Linked DNA regions of Homo sapiens: region 1 is linked to region 2. The links are contacts of gene promoters, found by promoter capture Hi-C in blood cells and fetal thymus (Javierre and others, 2016). All regions are on one chromosome and are shown on one strand. Each heading gives the region's core, a stretch centred on a gene start or on the middle of the fragment in contact. The rest is flanking DNA. Distances are from core to core; before and after follow the strand shown.

The links. Contacts are between HindIII fragments. The CHiCAGO score rates a contact against its expected background, and 5 or more counts as called.
Region 1: the fragment with the promoter of EPAS1 here is called in contact with the fragment with the promoter of MSH6 in region 2 in 1 of 17 cell types (neutrophils); the score reaches 6.7 in neutrophils.

Annotation. Positions count from the first base shown.
Region 1 is chr2:46,296,090-46,302,108 of GRCh38, forward strand. EPAS1 (endothelial PAS domain protein 1) reads left to right here and starts at 1,318. Exons shown (of 16, transcript NM_001430.5): 1 at 1,318-1,848. The coding sequence starts at 1,823. RefSeq lists silencers at 772-1,351, 1,582-1,911. The HindIII fragment of the contact is 15,577 bases long and covers 1-6,019 here.
Region 2 is chr2:47,781,728-47,787,253 of GRCh38, forward strand. It overlaps MSH6 (mutS homolog 6), which reads left to right and starts at 1,418. Exons shown (of 10, transcript NM_000179.3): 1 at 1,418-1,766. The coding sequence starts at 1,507. RefSeq lists an enhancer at 791-860 and silencers at 991-1,470, 1,751-1,910, 2,111-2,200. The HindIII fragment of the contact is 5,497 bases long and covers 1-3,075 here.

The DNA.
Region 1 (6,019 bases), core at 68-2,567, 1.5 Mb before region 2:
AAAAGTATCTCCCCCAACCCTTTCTGTGTACACGGGGAAAACACGTGTTCATTTTTATTATGGCGCTGAAACCTACCCTTCTCTTCAAATCGCTTCTGTAGATCGTTCTAGTATAAAATGTGGCAAGAGGCTAAAGGGAGAGATATAGACCAGTTCTTTGGCCCTCGCTTTCCAACTTCAAGTTACACCTGTGAAACTCATGGGTCCTTCCACAGCCTTCAAAAACTAAGGGCGTCCCCTGTCCTCTCCCCAGATGTCCCTTCCCCATCGCCGGTAGCGAGTGGGAGACAGCTCAGCGCGGGGCAGGGGAGCACTGGGCCCGGAGATGGAAGGCAGCGTCAAAAGCGCCGCTGGAAAATCCCTGAGCGCTAACCGTTGCCTGTGTGAGCCCTTAAATCTACAAATTTCCAACACCTGTAGCCTTTGGGTTTCCCAGGACTTCCATCGACCCTGGCGGCAGAGAGGGCAGGCCTGAGATGCAGTGACTTGAGGGCACATGGCCAACTCTTGTCACTCCAAGATCACACTGGGGAACCAGACTGACTTCTCCAATTCTGAACTCGCCCCGGCCTCGGGCGGCTCAAAGGGCCTCCTCTGCCGCATCCCCGCCAAAACCAAACCGCCTGGCACAAGCCGGTAAGCAACCACCCTGCTGGGAGAGGGAAGGAAGAGTAGGCGCAGCCCTAGATCAATTTCCTTGCACTGCTTCTCCCAGACGGTCAAGTCAGCTGCGTCCCACCGAAAAGGGCGCATCGCCCACGCCCGAAACGCAGCCGCTGGGGGCCGAGAAATTATCCCCACCTGGCCCGAGGGCCAGGGACGCAGGAGCGCAGCAGCGTGGAGGGGCTCCGCGCTGGCCCGGCGCTGCCCGCGGTCCTGCCCTCGTTCCAAGGGCACGGCGCCGGTACGAGGACACCGACGCTGTGGCGCAACTGCCGTCCCCCGCAGCAATCCCGGAGCCCGGCTCCCGGCCGCCCCTCGGCCCTGCGCAGGCTGCCTCTCCCCGACGCGGAGTCCCACCCCGCTACCCGCCGCCCAGACGACCTCATAAACAAGTCCTCGAAGTGCGGAGGCAGGAGGCGGGGCGCAGCGCGGGGGCAGGAGGCGGGCCAGGGTCAGGGCAGAGGCTGCGGCCGCGCGTCCCCATTGGCCGGGACGCAGTGAGCCGCCCGGAGCTCGGCGCGGGCGGGGCCTGCCGGCGCGTGCCCGCCCACACACCCGCGCCGGTGCCCGCCCCCCGCCCTCCGCGCCCGCCCCGTGCCCGCCCCAAGCCGGCCGACGGAGTTTTTAAAGTGGGCTGCCGGCCGCGGGAGCTTTACACTCGCGAGCGGACCGCCACACGGGTCCGGTGCCCGCTGCGCTTCCGCCCCAGCGCTCCTGAGGCGGCCGTACAATCCTCGGCAGTGTCCTGAGACTGTATGGTCAGCTCAGCCCGGCCTCCGACTCCTTCCGACTCCCAGCATTCGAGCCACTTTTTTTTTTCTTTGAAAACTCAGAAAAGTGACTCCTTTTCCAGGGAAAAAGGAACTTGGGTTCCCTTCTCTCCGTCCTCTTTTCGGGTCTGACAGCCTCCACCCACTCCTTCCCCGGACCCCGCCTCCGCGCGCAGGTTCCTCCCAGTCACCTTTCTCCACCCCCGCCCCCGCACCTAGCCCGCCGCGCGCCACCTTCCACCTGACTGCGCGGGGCGCTCGGGACCTGCGCGCACCTCGGACCTTCACCACCCGCCCGGGCCGCGGGGAGCGGACGAGGGCCACAGCCCCCCACCCGCCAGGGAGCCCAGGTGCTCGGCGTCTGAACGTCTCAAAGGGCCACAGCGACAATGACAGCTGACAAGGAGAAGAAAAGGTAAGCGGGCGTCCGGGCCGATCAGGGGGCCGGTCCGAGGCCAGGGCCGGGCTGCGCGGGGCAGGCGCGACCGAGAGTGGTTGGGAGAAGAGTGCTGAGAGGTCTTCGGAGCTCGAGGCTCGGTTTGGAGGGCTGTGAGGGGGAGAGCATGTGCCCGGTTTGGGGGCGCGGATCAGCAGCTTTGCAGTGGAGACTTCTGCGGCTCGGAGGAGTCGGGGATTTGCGCGCACGGCGAGGCCAGGAGGCCGAGGGAGATGGCCTGGAGGTCGGAGGTGCTTCCGCGGTGCCTTTGAAAATCTCCCAGCCGCCCCGCAGCAGATTACCGTGGCCACCGGCGCTTGGAAATGTTTGTGGGTGCATGTCCTCGACTTTCTCTGGTCTCTCATTTTGGGGCAGCATCCACGTCTCTATTTTTCTCTGGATTCGCGGAGTCCTTCCAAATGCGCTCCTGTGCCCGCGCCGCGGCCCAAGTGGGCAAAGGGGGGCGGGAGGCGGAGAGCGGCTCAGGGACACGATCCTACCGAGGAGCCAGGACCCTTCAGAGCGCCCCGCTGCCGGGCTCCAGACCCCACCGAAGGTTGGAGAACCCACTTCCTCGTGCCGCACCTTGACTCTGGGGAGAGTAGGTAGTGAGTGACCTGGATTGCCCTGCGGGGGCAGATGGTTCGGTGTGTAGGAAGCGGACGGCAACACTGGATGTCCCTGGCAGGTCCGGGTGTCTGTCTCCGAAGAGGACAGAGAAGGGCAGCCACGATCTGCCCGCCTGCCCTCGCGAGCCTCTCGGCACTGGGTGAGAGGCAACTCTGGCCATTTCTTGCTGCCCTCTCGCCCTCTCCCGGCCGCTCCCAGTCCAGCCGGGCCCGGCGCTACCCGAGCGAGGGTTCGAGCCCTCTGCGCGGCCGCGCAGAAGCAGGCAGGGCCTCAACTTCTGCAAATGTGTGCGGCTCGCCGCCTGTCCCCTTTCTCCTCCTGTCTCCACCCGTGCGGCCCCAGTGGCCTGGAGCTTCCAGCCCCGCGCTTGGCCGCGGCTTGGCGAGGCTATGCTGCGGGAAGCTGGAATCCAACGCGCGGCCGGCTGAACCGCCTGAGCCGCGGGAAACCAGCGGCGGAGCGGCGGTATAGAGGTGCGAGGATGAGGAGGACCGACTCGCTAAGGGAGGGAGGTGACTGGCCGGGAGGGCTCACTGCCGAGGTTGATTTGCTCTTGTTCCAACTTCCACTACGGGACTGGAGCCAGAAACCGTGTATCCTCCGGTCGAAAGCAGCGGTTCCCACCTCGGGGCACCGATAAGGATTTGATAAACGGGAGCGAATCGCGCCTGTCCTGGCTCGGCGCCCGGGCCCTTCACTGCGGGATCGCTAGGGGAGGGGATTGGGCCCTGCTCCCCTTTCCTGGCCGTAGTCCCCCCTTTCTCGTCACCGTCGCGCCCTCAGACCCAAGACAAGTGAGGGAGCCCTGAGACTGCAGCCGGCACATTCCCAGGGCCCTCGGAGCAGTCCTGGGGTTCCATGTCTTTTGAAGGCAGCAGAGCAAGGAAAAGACTCTTAAGATTCCAGTGCGTTTTGTAAAAACCAATCATAATGCTAATAATGACTGAACCATCGAAAAGCAAAGTTATAGACAGCGCCTGCAGACGCTTTCGGGTCCGGAGCCGGGGAGGGAACTTGTGTATTTTACAACTGCGATGCCTATCGGGAATGTGGCAATCGCCGAGGTGGGGCCTGACAGTAATCTTGACAAATGTGTGAAGTGTCAGCTCCTCCTGCGCTCCTTAGCGCCGGGTTTTGTGCAGTTTTGTACCGTATATACCGAGAAACTTGGGAGCAGGGGAAAAATGATTTCGACACACCCAGCTACAGTACCTGGTTCGTTAGCGGACTGTTGGAAAGAGAGAAGAAGCGGGAATGGGAGCGGGAAGAACGTTGCGTAATTAGACTCCCAATTATTGGCGAGAGCGGCCGCTTTAAGAACCACTGTGGGGACTGCCTGCGAAACGCCTTGGAGGCCGCTGTGTGAGCTGCGGCTCCGGGCTGGTGGCCACGCGAGGGTGTCCGCCCTCTTCGACCTGCCTGGATTTTTGTGCTGCAGAATGGCAGGGCAAACAGCGTGTCCTTCACCATCTAGAGCCCCTTAAGGGGTTGTCCAATTCCTATTGGGCTAATCAGTTTGAGACTCATTTACTTTTCGTGCCTGGGTCTGTTTGCTGGCTGCAGGCTTCTTTAGGGACCAAGATGTAATTAAAATATGTGAACCAATACATTGAAAGTTGGTGTTGTCATGTAAGTGACTGCTGTAGCTTTTCTGAGTGCCTCACAAGGGCGATGTGACAGTGAGGGGGCTCTCTGCTGATGATTCTGCCCACTAGTTCTTACATTTTGTGTTTCTTTGGTTTAGCAGAGCAGTTTCTTCCCCCAAATGCAATATGGGCAGAACATTTGGAATATTCGTTCTAACAATGGCCCGTCAAGAAGTGGGCAGATGATTTTGTCCCAGAATGTTCACACGTCGATAAATATGTTAATGTTTAATAATAAAGAGTTTGCTTTCTAAATGTTAGTTGGCTGGGTGTCCTTGATAGTACCAGTTTTGGTGGTAGTGGGCATTTGCGGTGACATCACAGATGTCAGAAACTGAAGCCTGGTGGGTGGGGGTACTGCACTTTCACTCACCTTTTTGTGCACGCATCTATCAGGAATGCCTGAGTCCTTTCACTGGGAAAAAAATGTGGAAATTCTGGGATTCACGGGGTTTGAGGAGTGGTTCAGGCAAATGTAAATGAGATCCTTGGATAATCAGGGATCAAAGTCCAGTCCCAAAGCCAGACCTAGGTCCAGACACCTTCCCAGAGTGCTTATACAGTAGTGCTCAGTACAGGGCTAGCGTGGAAGGGGAATTGGAGACACCTGGATCTCCAATCTCCCCCTCCTTCTGACAGCTGGACTTAGTTGTTCCTCTTCTAAAATCAAATCAAACTCCATCATTATTCCAACTCTGAAGGGAAAAAATATTGCTGGACAGTTTCTCTCAATTTAAACATATATTTTAAATAAATATTCCCTCCACACTTGATATGTTTCCATTGTATTACCAGCAGCGCAGGATGATACAGAATTGATGTAACACATTGTTGGCTTGAGTATTTAAGTTTTAATTCATACAGTTTTCATGAAGTTCAAAAGAATGCCATCATTTCAAGTTTTTTTCAGTGGTGCTTATAGGGAGCCTAGAATTATTTTATAAGAGACCATGGAAATCATCTAGTCAGACTTTTCTCTTTCTGGATAAGGAAACTGATGCCGAGAGAGGTTAAAAGACTTCTCCGGTCACAAGGAAAATTAGTGCTGATAAGAGTCAGGGCTGGTCGCGGTGGCTCATGCCTGTAATCCCAGCACTTTGGGAGGCTGAGGCTGCGGATCACCTGAGGTCAGGAGTTCAAGACCAGCCTGGTCAACATGGTGAAACCCCGTCTCTATTAAAAACACAAAAAAATTAGCCGGGCGTGGTGGTGGGTGCCTGTAATCCCAGCTATTCTGGAGGCTGAGGCAGGAGAATTGCTTGAACCCGGGAGGTAGAGGCTGCAGTGAGCGGAGATAGCGCTGCTGCACTCCAGCCTGGGCAAGAGTGAAATTCCGTCTCAAAGAAAAAAAAAAAAAAAAAAGTCAGAACCCTGGTTTATTACTTTCAATTAAGTATGTATTTTCCTATTGTTCACAGGAGAGTACCCCAGCCCTGAAATATCTCTAGATAGTGAGGATGATTTCCGAAGGAGTGCCTTCCCCATCACAACTCTCAAACCGCTGAACCTTATAGAAAGGAGATTTGCTTTTCTGGATAATTATCAACACCTTTAGGCTGCAGTAGAAGTGATGATTCTGTTTGCTTTTTGAAAAAAAAAAAAAAAGGAAGCAGAGTTGAATTGATGCTGTTCCCAGTGTCTGTAAACTTTGAGAAGTATGAATTCATTGTTTTAGTTAGAAAAAAATCTACTTATATAGGTAGACCTCATTAAACAAAACCAATGCAAGGACCGCTCCTCAGTGGAGCAGATTGCTTTTTGAGGTAGAGAACATTCAAGCAGCTGCTAGATTGATTTTTGTACTGGGTTAGTTGGCATTTTCACTAGGAGTGAAAACTGTGAGACTAAACAGTTTAATTTACTTAGAATGTCCC
Region 2 (5,526 bases), core at 168-2,667:
ATCCGCCCACCTCCGCCCCCCCCCCGAAGTGCCGAGTGCTGGGACTACAGGCGTGAGCCACTGCGCCCGGCCCCCGCCTTTTTTTTTTAGATTGATTTTATTACTTGCCTAGCAAAGGAGAACCTTCTGGCAGAACAGTCTCCAAGAACAAGGCAAACAACTAATTTTACATAGGTTTTTACCAATGTACAGCTGTTGATTGTGACTGGTTTCCGGCAATCTGGATTTCACAATCTGGATAAGGGGACAAACAATTGTCTGTCTTCCACTATCTTTCTTGAATTTGAATAGAACCTTTTTATTCTCATAGCCTCTTAGCTTTCTTTCTTTTTTTTTTGAGACGGAGTTTCGCTCTTGTCGCCCAGGCTGGAGTGCAGTGGCGCGACCTTGGCTCACTGCAAACGCTGCCTCCCAGGTTCAAGTTATTCTCCTGCCTCAGCCTCCCAAGTAGCTGGGATTACAGGCGCATGCCACCACGCCCGGCTAATTTTTGGATTTTTAGTAGAGACGGGGGTTTCACCATGTTGACTAGGCTGGTCTTCAACGCCTGACCTCAGGTGATCCGCCCGCCTCGGCATCCCAAAGTGCTGGGATTACAGGCGTGAGCCACTGCGCCCGGCCTCTCATAGTCTCTTAGCTTTCTAAAATTTGAAAAATCCTGTAAAGACACACCTGGGTCAAAGGGCTCAGATAACGGACTGTGGCCCTTAAGTACTTACGTCACAGGTTATTGAGAGGATCGATTTAGTTACCAGATGTAAAATGCTGGGATCAGTGCCTGGCAAAGGAAAACTTTGTACAGCTGCAGGCTTTCACCATACACAACAGCATCGCTAACGAATGCTATTACAATATTCATTTAGCGTTTACCAAGTGCCTACTCTATACAAATCTTGAGAATACAACGTGAAGGTGAACTGCTGACTAAAGTTTGGTCCCTTTCGCTCCGTCTCCTTGCGAAAATGCTCTAACGGCAGGAGGTCACGCGAGCGCTGGACGCGTTTCTCCCCGCGAGCCCCTTTCCGAGGCCTTTCGGGTCCCCCCGGTTATCCCCGCCCGGGCGGTGCGCGCCCCCGCTGTTCCCGCTTCCGCTCCAGAGAGGCAGGGCTTTCCGAGCCTGCTAGCCCCGCGGCCGCAACTAACCCCGGGTCGGAGTGTTCCGGCCCGGCCAGCCCCGCGGCGTGAGGGAAGGGGAGCTCAGCAGTTCCCCGCGCGGGGCCCAGGCGTCGGCGGCAGGGCGGGCCCCTCACCGCCAGCGTGCCAGCCCCGCCCCTACCCACCAGTGTGCCAGCCCCGCCCTTCCCCACGTCGCCGCGCGCCCGGGGGCGGGGCCTGGCGCGCACCGCCCGCGCACGGCGAGGCGCCTGTTGATTGGCCACTGGGGCCCGGGTTCCTCCGGCGGAGCGCGCCTCCCCCCAGATTTCCCGCCAGCAGGAGCCGCGCGGTAGATGCGGTGCTTTTAGGAGCTCCGTCCGACAGAACGGTTGGGCCTTGCCGGCTGTCGGTATGTCGCGACAGAGCACCCTGTACAGCTTCTTCCCCAAGTCTCCGGCGCTGAGTGATGCCAACAAGGCCTCGGCCAGGGCCTCACGCGAAGGCGGCCGTGCCGCCGCTGCCCCCGGGGCCTCTCCTTCCCCAGGCGGGGATGCGGCCTGGAGCGAGGCTGGGCCTGGGCCCAGGCCCTTGGCGCGCTCCGCGTCACCGCCCAAGGCGAAGAACCTCAACGGAGGGCTGCGGAGATCGGTAGCGCCTGCTGCCCCCACCAGGTAGCGGGGTGGGGGTGGGGTCGAAGGCGGGGGCATAGCGGCGGGGCGCTTGGAACCCGGCGAGGGGAGGCTCGCACAGGGGGTTGGGGGGGTGCACGGCCTGGCCCTGGGCTCGGAGGAGGCGGGGCCGCAGAGTTGGCTTGAATGAGTGCAGGGGTCGAGTCTGGAGCATTTGGGGGTGTAGCTTGTAAACAGGGTCGGAGGAGAGAGGCTGTGCAGGAAGAGGGCTGCAGGGGAGACGCGGAGAGTTCGGGCCTTTTGGAGGGAGGAGACGCGTCCCGCCAGGTGGGGGTGCTGGGCTAAGGAAGGGGCGACGCGCGCAGCTCCGGGTGGGGAGGGGGCCTGGGAGGTGGGAGCACTGGGGGTGGGGCGAGAAGGGGAAGGCGCCCGGCCCACTTGGTGGGCGGGGCGGGGGGCGGGGTGGCGGGAAGGAGGAATGCCTGCGGGAGGCCGAACGGGGAGAGTCCGGTGGTGTGGGGTGCGAAAGGAGGTTCCTCGGCCGGCGCGGAGATAGTGAGTTGGGGCTCCAGTAGTCGATCGAGGTAGACACTTAGAGGTAGTTAAGAGCCGCGGTCGCCGAGACGCCTTGGGGACGGTGGGCCTTCGGCCTAGGTGAGGGGCCGCCGAGGGGGTGGGCCACGAGCTGCGAGCGCGGGGGGGTGTGTCACCATGGGGACCGCGGGGCCTAATTGGGCGGGGCGGGGCCGTGGGGAGCCGAAGTGCTGGGATCCGGCTGGGTCCTTCGGTAGGTAGGCTGCACGTGCACCGAGACGAAGATAGAATATTTTGACGTATGTGGAAATTCGTGTCGAGTGGAAAATATTTTATTTTATGAAATAGTGTAATTTTTATGGGGCACCACTGGGCTTTTAGAGGCCTTAATCGGGCGCTGGACAAAGATGTGTGGACGTGAGTGACTCCGGGGAAGCCTGTCGGGAGTTGTCCTCACTTTATGGGCAGTTAAGTGCTTTTTTTTTTTTTTCCTTTTTGAGAGAGAGTTTCGCTCAAGTCCAGGCTGGAGTGCAATGGCGCGATCTCAGCTCACCGCAATCTCCGCGTCCCGGCTTCAAGCGATTCCCCAGCTTCAGCCTCCCGAGTAGTCGGGATTACAGGAATGCGCCCCCACACCCCGCCAATTTTGTATTTTTAGTAGAGACGGGGTTTCTCCATGTTGGTCAGGCTAGTCTCGGAATTCCCGACCTCAGGTGATCCACCCGCCTCGGCCTCAAAGTGCTGGGATTACAGGCGCTAGCCACCGCGCCCGGTCTGTTTAGGGCTTTTTATCCGGGCAGCTGGCGACATTTTGAAAAGCTTGCTTTTGCTGTTTGCCAGATACATATATATGTATTTTGAGACAGAGTCTTGCTCTTTTGTCCAGGCTAGAGTGCAGTGGCGCGTTCTTGGCTCACCACAACCTCTGTCTCTGGATCAAGAGATTATCCTGCCTCAGCCTCCCAAGTAGCTGGGACTACAGGTGCGCCCCACCACGCCTGGCTAATTTTTGTATTTTTAGTAGAGACGGGTTTCACTATGTTGGCCAGGCTGGTATCGAACTCCTGACCTCTTGATCGGCCCGCATTGGCCTACCAAAGTGCTGGGATTACAGGCATGAACCACCGAGCCCGGCCGTTTGTCAGATACTAAACACAAAGTTTAATGGTCGCTATTTGAACAAACGAAGAAATAAAGGCTCAGAAAAAATAACTCATTCAAGATAAGAGCCAGTTCGTGTTTTTTGTTTGGTTTTGTTTTGAAATGGAGTCTCGCTCTGTCGCCCAGGCTGGAGTGCTGTGGCGCTTTCTCGGCTCACTGCAACCTCTGCCCGCCGGGTTCAAGTGATTCTCCTGCCTCAGCTTCCCGAGTAGCTGGGATTACGGGTGTGCCCACCGCGGTCCGGCTGATTTTTCACCATGGAGTTTCACCATGTTGGCCAGGCTGGTCTTGAAACTGCTGACCTCAAGTGGTCCACCCACTTCAGCCTCCCAAAGTGCTGGGATTACAGGTGTGAGCCACCGTGCCCGGCCGCTAGTTAGTGGTTTTGAGTAATGGATTTCAAATCCATTTAAATCCAGTTTAAAGTGTCCTAAAGGAATTCTGAGATTTTTCTAAGTGTAATTATAGTGTTACCCTTGTTTAAGCGACCCTTTCCCGCAGTTTAAATATATATAGTTGTGCATTAGTAGAATATGCTTGTGGGGAACAGAGCCAGCATCCGCAATAACAAACTCCTGGTTAGAAAAGCATGACGTATTGTTTACTTGAGCATGAATTGATTGTTGAATCCAAACCAAACGGGTGTATTTATTGTAAGGATGTACTTTACATTCATATTGAATAGCGTATGTTATTTGTTTCTTGAGGTTGAGTTTAAGAGACTTGTAAAAATAAAACGTATACATTTCACCTCCCGTTATGGAGAGGATTCCAGGGTATTCAAGAAAGATGGGCATTTGATACTAGGTTTCTAAAGAAACTGCAGTGTCTAGATCACTCTGCCGAGCACAGCATTAGGCATTATGGATCCTGGATACAACCATGAACAGGACAAAGCAAAGAGGCAATTGTAGACTCCAAGTGGAAAGGGGACGGAGAGGATGCGGGTCAGGCTAGGCTCTCAGCTCTGTAAACCGAAACCAGAAGGACAAATAAGCTTAGACAGATTATAGTGAGAGTGGGAAGCTGGTTCAGGAAGAGGAAGGTCTGCAAATTGTGGGTAGGATGAAAGGAGGAGGAGGGAGCATTGGAGAAGTTAAGCAGAGATCCAATCATGAACAGTCTGATGAGCTACAGAGACATTCGGACTTACTCCATGAATCATTTAAGCCTTAAAACATGTTGAGCGTATTTTTTTTTTTTTTGAGACGGAATTTCACTCTTGTTGCCCAAGCTGGAGTGCAGTGGTGTGGTCTCAGCTCACTGCAACCTCCGCCTCCTGGGTTCCAGCGATTCTCCTGCCTCATCCTCTCAAGTACCTGGTATTACAGGTGCCTGCCACCACGCCCAGCTAATTTTTGTGTTTATAGTAGAGACGGGTTTCACCATGTTGGTCAGGCCAGTCGTGAACTCCTGACCTCAGGTGATCCACCCACCTCAGCCTCCCAAAGTGTTGGGATTACAGGCGTGAACCACCGCACCTGGCCGTGAGCCACCGTGTCTGTCCGAGCATCTTTTAATGTTTGTCATTTAGATTTCTTCTTGTGCTGAAGTGTTTGTCTTTTGCTGTTTCTTTTTTTTTTCCTAGTTCTTTGTCATTTGTGTGTGATATAAATGTCTTCTTTCACAATGAGTTCTTTCATTTAGTTTATGGCTTTGTTGTTGTTGTTGAATAATAGAGGTCTCACTTTGTTGCCCAGGCTGGTGTTGAACTCTTGCTCTCAAGCGATCCTCCCACTTCAGCCTCCCAACCTGTTGGGATTACAAGTGTGAGCCACCACACCCAGCCTTATGGCATCTTTCGATGAACAAATTATTGATTATAATGTGGAATTTGTCCTTTTATTTTCTCTGTGGTTAGTGTTTCTATAGGTTTTATTTAAGAAATCCACAGGGAGGCTGGGTGCAGTGGCTCATGCCTGTAAACCCAACACTTTGGGAGGCCAAGGCAGGCCAACATGGCTAGACCCTGTCTCTCCAAAAAATAAGAAAATTAGCCAGGCATGGTGGCGTGTGCCTGTAGTCCCAGCTTCTTGGGAGACTGAGATGGGAGGATCGCTTGAGTCCAGGAGGTTGAGGCTGCAGTAAGCCAAGAGATCATGCCATG